Linked DNA regions of Homo sapiens: region 1 is linked to region 2. Evidence: promoter capture Hi-C in 16 types of primary human blood cells and fetal thymus (Javierre and others, 2016). All regions are on one chromosome and are shown on one strand. The core of a region is centred on a gene start or on the middle of the fragment in contact, and the rest is flanking DNA. Distances in the headings are between cores, read along the strand shown.

Evidence for each region. The method cuts DNA at HindIII sites, captures the fragments that hold promoters and counts their contacts. A CHiCAGO score of 5 or more calls a contact.
Region 1: a contact is called between a fragment that was not itself captured here and the fragment with the promoter of SMIM19 in region 2, in 6 of 17 cell types (megakaryocytes, fetal thymus, M2 macrophages and 3 more). The highest score is 11.9, in megakaryocytes.

What each region holds. Positions count from the first base shown.
Region 1 is chr8:42,396,561-42,399,841 of GRCh38, forward strand. It overlaps VDAC3 (voltage dependent anion channel 3), which reads left to right. Exons shown (of 10, transcript NM_005662.7): 5 at 2,152-2,304; 6 at 3,091-3,143. Among named protein-coding and RNA genes, the nearest start is that of VDAC3, 6.3 kb to the left of the region's middle. The HindIII fragment of the contact is 2,405 bases long and covers 133-2,537 here.
Region 2 is chr8:42,540,054-42,543,250 of GRCh38, forward strand. It overlaps SMIM19 (small integral membrane protein 19), which reads left to right and starts at 1,532. Exons shown (of 4, transcript NM_001135674.2): 1 at 1,532-2,320. It also overlaps a transcript of SLC20A2 not described here. RefSeq lists silencers at 1,113-1,392, 1,533-1,952 and an enhancer at 3,113-3,197. The HindIII fragment of the contact is 8,293 bases long and covers 1-2,582 here.

The DNA.
Region 1 (3,281 bases), core at 85-2,584, 140 kb before region 2:
AATCATTCTCATTTTGTGTAGGTTCCAGAATTTGCTCATTAGGTTTGTGTTGCAAAAATTATCAACTAAAATTTTATCTCCCTTTCATGCTGCTGTTGTGTGGTAATATTCATTCAGATGGTAAGAAAAAAAAGCTTATTCGTATGCTTGTTTTTATGGCTGCTTTTGGTTTCTGGTATTGATTTAGGATAAATTTCAATCATTGTTCCAAATTTCTTAGATTGTGTCTTGATATTTTTCTCATATGCTATCTACTTAACAGTAACATTTTTGTTTGTTTTGTTGCTTACTAAGCATTTAATGTAGAGCTATATGCATGTTATATGCATGTTATAAATGTGTTTTGCACTTGTTTGACCAAATTATGAAATTAGACACAAACTGAACTGTGAATCGTGAGCCTGGAACTCAACTTAGAACAATTCTAGCCTTTTTTTCTGAGATTTGTACCTGTGGCATTTTAGATTCGTGACAGACCTTCAAACTAAGAATTGATGCTGACAAGGGAGAAATGTAGACTACCCCTCTACCTTAATTTTGTGCATAAGGTTTTTCTAGCACCAAAATTAAGATTTGCATTTGTTATACTTGTCAAGTTTGTGAAAAGTAAATGTAAAAAATAAAACACTAGATAGTTGGATCTACTAAAAGAAAAATGATTGTCACGTTAAAATAATTATGTGAACAGTTAAACATGATTAACATGTTATCATTTTTTTTTTACTAAGGCCTTCCCCTAAATGTGCAGCATGATACTCTCTTTGAAACCATTCTGTGTGGTTTGATAAACAGAACATAACTTCCCAGTTGTCTCATCTGCCTGTAGAACTAGAGTTAGGGGACAGGGCATTTGTTAAGGAGAGGATTCATGTTGCAGGCAGTGAAAAAGACTGGTCAGGGTTGGCAGCATCTCATTACTGTTGGCAGGATTTCAGAAATGCTCCCTAAAACAGGACCAATCAGAATGTTTTTTCTTGACAGTTCATAGATTGTCAGTGACAGGTGCTGTCTGCTTTCCCCAGAAGGAGGTCCATTTCTAATTGCTTATTGTCATATGACTTAAAGGGCACTGAACTAGGGCAAAGGATGTATTTTATTTTATTTTATTTTTTTGAGACAGAGTCTCATTCATAGTAACTGTTTGATAGAAAGCACTCTTAAAGGTAGACAGGATAGAAAGGGGGAAAGAAGGATAAATTATAGCATTCTACTTTATTTTGAAAAATGGGTAGTACTTTCAAATATTGAAATTGTCTAAGCAGAAGTTTTGCAGTTTTGCACACAAAAGCATTAAAGTTTTCACAGCAGTGTGACTGTACTTAATGCCACTTCACTGTACACTTAAAACATTATTAAAATGGTAAAATGTATGTTACATGTATTTACCACAATAAAAAAAAACATTTTTAAAAGGAAGTAGTAAAGTGTTGACCCTATTAAAAAGGAGGAGGGCAGTATTTTGGGATTTTTAAGGACCTTGAAATTAACTGATAGTTTGAAACATATAGCAGAGAACTGATAATCTTTTTTTAGGTCATGAAAGTAAAATGTTTAAGATACAATATTTTTGGTCTTTTTAGTAAAGGCATTTGTTTTCAGTAAAGATACTTCTTTTTTAAAGGAGAGAATTTAGGATTACCATTTGGTAAGAGAGTATATGGAACAAGAGATATTAATAAGAGAAGTAGAGTAATGGAAAGATCTGAAACTGGTATTGAGCTGTCTCACTCCGTTGCCCAGGCTAGGGTGAAGTGGCATGATCTCGGCTCACTGCAACCTCTGCCTCCTGGGCTCAGGCTGGGACTACAGTCACGTGCCATCATGCCTGGCTAATTTTTTGTATTTTTTGTAGAGATGGGGTTTTGCCATGTTGCGCAGGCTGGTCTTGAGCTCCTGGACTCAAGGGATCCACCCGCCTTGGCCTCGTAACATGCTGGGATTACAGGCATGAGCCACTGCGCCTGGCAGAACTGGTTAAAATATTTAGGGACTGGAAAAGCAAGGGGAAAGGAGGAAAGAAGTTGCTCTAGAGTAGGGCTGTGGCAAGCAGTAAATGGTATTGTTTTTGATACATTGAACACTGCTTTCCAAAGTGAATATTTTCTATTTGATGAGCTAATTTTAAAGTAATTATTTTTTCTTGCTTACCAGGAATTTTCTACTTCTGGTCATGCTTACACTGATACAGGGAAAGCATCAGGCAACCTAGAAACCAAATATAAGGTCTGTAACTATGGACTTACCTTCACCCAGAAATGGAACACAGACAATACTCTAGGGACAGAAATCTCTTGGGAGAATAAGGTAAGAGAACGCATTAGAAGTTATTCATAGGTTCAATTTATCTTGTAGATTGAATGATGAACATACCCCAAATATAATCAAAAGAGATCTTACAACCTATCTAGTAGCCATATTTTTTCTCTGCATGTGGCCTTTTTTGATGTCTTATGTTTCTAGAAAATAAGGCTTTGTTTGTGAGTACTCTAATTACTATATTACATCTTTGTTCTGACTGGTTCTCTGTTACACAGCTAAGCTTCTCCTGGGTAGAACAAACTATTTGCGGAAATTTGGTTTAGTTTTGTAATTGTTGAAAAATTGGCTTGACAGAAAAATTTTTCTAAAATGTTCTCATGTTTTCAAGGAGAAAATCTATTAGATATAGTCAAGTGCCCACTATGTACAGGGCACTGTTTTTGATAGAGATACCATGTATAGATAATGTACATGCAAAACTGAGTAAAATGACTTAGCCTGCTTGTTAAATGTCAGGTTATCTCATTACTGCTCTTTCAAGAGAGTATCAAGATGATTTTGTTGTATGGGAATTCTGTTTGGTTTTGAACTGTATTTTATGTAACTTGCTAAAATAGGATTTGCCCCATTTTTTAGTGGGAGAACCATGATGAAGGCTGGGGTGAGGGGACAGGAGGATGGAGAGCTTACTTATTACATAATTTAATATTTTGCTTTCTTGAATGACTCCTTTTTTTTGTTAAAGAACTCAGGAAACTTTAGAATTGGTTTCTTGAGTTGGATAAATGATTGAAAATTACTAATTATTTATTTTAAATCTTTGTTTTTCAGTTGGCTGAAGGGTTGAAACTGACTCTTGATACCATATTTGTACCGAACACAGGGTAATTATTCAAATCCCATTTCCTGAAACGTTTTTGGAGCCTGAAAGGGTAGAGAGCTTTAGAATAAGGAGATATAGTGCAAAGTTCAGAGGCAGGAAGAACTCAGAAGGTTGCTATAAGGAATATTGGAGACCTTGT
Region 2 (3,197 bases), core at 282-2,781:
GGCCGAGGCGGGCGGAACACCTGAGGTCTGGAGTTCGAGACCAGCCTAGCCAACATGGTGAAACTCCGTCTCTACTAAAAATACAAAACTTAGCTGGGCGTGGTGGCGGGCGCCTGTAATCCCAGCTACCTGGGAGGCTAAGGAAGGAGAATCGCTTGAACCCGGGAGGCGGAGGTTGCAGTGAGCCAAGACAGTGCCATTGCACTCCAGCCTGAACGAGAGCAAAACCCCGTCTCAAAAAAAACAAAACAATAACAATAATGTACACGTTTCACATTTGGACACACTGAAATCAAACTCACGTATTCAAATTTTTTTAGATTAAGTTACATAAAGCATGCACACCATTTGGCACAGGCCCGGCAAACAATCAGTACTCAACATCACCTGTTATTTTCCTGATTTTCCAACTTTAGAGTCAAACTAAATGTTATAGAATTATATGTATGATTATGTATATACAATATATATAAATACATATAAATACCGTAAATTAAGCTAGTATGTTATTGCGTAAAGTAATGGTCTTACCCTAGACGAAGGTGAGTTTAATTGTAACAGATGAAACAAAGAATAGAAAACTTGTTAAGAAGTGTTCAATGTAAGCTCTCATCTCTGCAGGGTTTCATGTGACTTATAATTACCAGTCAGCTGGTCCTAGAGAACTTAATCAAAATGTATAGTAAAGACGAACTACGTGGACCAGTGGCCATTTATCTGCAAGGTGGCACCAGCCACTGACATCTGATCACTTCCATACTGATGCTGAAATCCTATGCAAATTCATTACTTAGGTCAAGCTGGGAAACACTTCTGTCAAGTCACTACACAATTAAATAAAAATACCCAAAAGGGACTTACACTGACAATGCTATAGCATCCTGGCCATATCCAGTTTTGAAAACACTACGGTGTCAGCCACGCACCATTTAGGACGGGGAGAATGGAAAGCCAGTTTGGAGAACAGACGCTTTCTTAAGAGTACACGTGAATATGAAAAGGGACTCTATGCTCTCAAGACCAAAAAAGAAATCCTCTGCGCCGCCCGGCTACATTGCGCCTGGTGGGACAATGTACACGACCCCTCCCCCGCCGAGTCCCACCCCAAGCGCGCACAGCGGAGCAGGAGGCGCCCGGCACTCGCAGGTAATGCCCGGTCCCTGCCACTTCCGTCGAGTTTTCGCAAAGGCGCCGCACGGCAAGCGACGGCCAGGTCCACGTGGGCCAGCAGGCGCGGGGGACGCAACCCGCCGCCGCCGCGAGCCCCGCCGGCGCCGACCAGCCCTGGCCCCCACCCGCGGGAGCCCGGGAGTCGGGCCGGGGGCTCGCGGGAGGCGGCGCGCGCAGCCCGGGCGGGGGTCGCGGCGCGGTAGGGGAAAGGAGCCCGGCTCCACTCACGCGCCCGGGGGCGGCACTGGGGCCGCCGCTGCGTCTCTCCGGCTCAAAAAACTGAAAAGGGGAAAGGAAAAAAAAAAAAAAAAGACCTGGCTCCTCGTTTCATCCGGAAACCGACCGGCCGGCAGGAAATGACGAAGGCAGAGGGCGTCCAGGTCCGCTCGGTAACCGTTTCCCGCGCGCCCGGCCCCGACTCCGGGGTAAAGAGCCCCGGAGCGGAGCAGCGCTGGCCGCGTGCCGCCTCCGGAGCCGGCAGCGTGAGTGGCCCCGCGTCCCCGCTTCTCCCGGTCCCCGGCGGGGCCGCGTCACCCGGCCCCGCCCCGCGCCGCCCGCCCCGCCCCGGACGCGGGGGTAAGGGGGGTGGCCGCCCGCCTGCCCTCGGTCCCGTGCGGTCCCCGAAACTCCGAGCACCCGCCCGGTCCCGGCGCGGAGCCCCTCGGCGTCGCGTGGAGCTGCGAGTCGCCCGCTTCCGGAAGCGCACACGGGCCAGTTGCGGCGGCCCATCTGCCGGGGCGGCGGGGGCTCGGCGGGAGGGTTGAGGCTGAATCACGCGCAGCCTGCGGGCGGCGGAAACGTCCCTAGAGCCTCGCCGCCCTGGGACCCGGGCTGCTTCCTGGGAGAGGATTACATTTTCTCCCTGCTCCACTTGACTTTCTTCCGGAAGGAGCAGGTCTCGCAGGATCGGGGCCAAGACTGGAAGAGTTCAGGTTTGGGAGTCGTGTGTATAACAGCCCCGCGCCTCCACGCCCAGGCCTGTGTGGCTTTGGACAAGTTATATAACCACCGCCGCCACCCCAGTTTCTTCTCCTGTAAAATGGAGCTTTAGTGCCGCCCAGCAGGGTTGTTGGGATAATTCAGTGACTCTGTGGACTGCCCAGCACCTGTGAATTGCTTTCCTGGATGTTGGGTGAAGGCCTGTGAGCTTGTATGTACCCTTTGGCTTCAGAATACCAAGCCTTTAGTGTTTCAGAGGGATGAGAGAAAGAAATCCCATTTTTTGATGCAGAGGATTTTGTTGTAAGGGACTCTAGGAACTAAGTGGTTCCAATGTGAATTTGTATCAAAGTAACAAAGTTCTAAGTGAGAGACAAAAATGATAACATTCAAGGCACGATGACAAGCGGTGGTCAATTTTAGAATCACCTAGACGTGACATCAGGAACCCAAAATCACGACACAGATTTTAAAGCTTATGATACAGTGACCTAGTCCCTAGAAAAAGTAGTTCTCGGCTGGGCACGGTGGCTCACGCCTGTAATCCCAGCACTTTGGGAGGCTGAGGCGGGCGGATTGCCTGAGCTCAGGAGTTTTGAGACCAGCCTGGGCAGTATAGTGAGACGACCCCCACCCCACCCCCGTCTTTAAAAAAAAAAAAATAAGAATTACCCAGGCATGGTGGCACTTGCCTGTATTCCCAACTACTTGGGAGGCTGAGGCAGGAGAATCCCTCGATTCTGGGACGTCGAGGCTGCAGTGAGCCGAGATCGCACCACTGCCCTCCAGCCTGGGTGACAGAGTGAGACCCTGTTTTTGTAAAAAAAAAAAAAAAAGTAGTTCTCATCCTAAAAGTTTGTCAATCTAAAACCAACCCCTAGTTGTAATATATTGGCAAGTTTATATACTCTTGTTTACTTGAGACTTAATTCAGCCCATCCTAGCCTCTCCTTACTGAAATAGTTCAAGCATTACATTACAGGAAAATGTGAAAAATGGTGTCTTGCTTTAGATTCCAGAGGAAGGCTGTGGTGGTATGCAGTAAGCACGCAGCAGGTGTATGTGTGTACACTTGGTTACACTGTGGC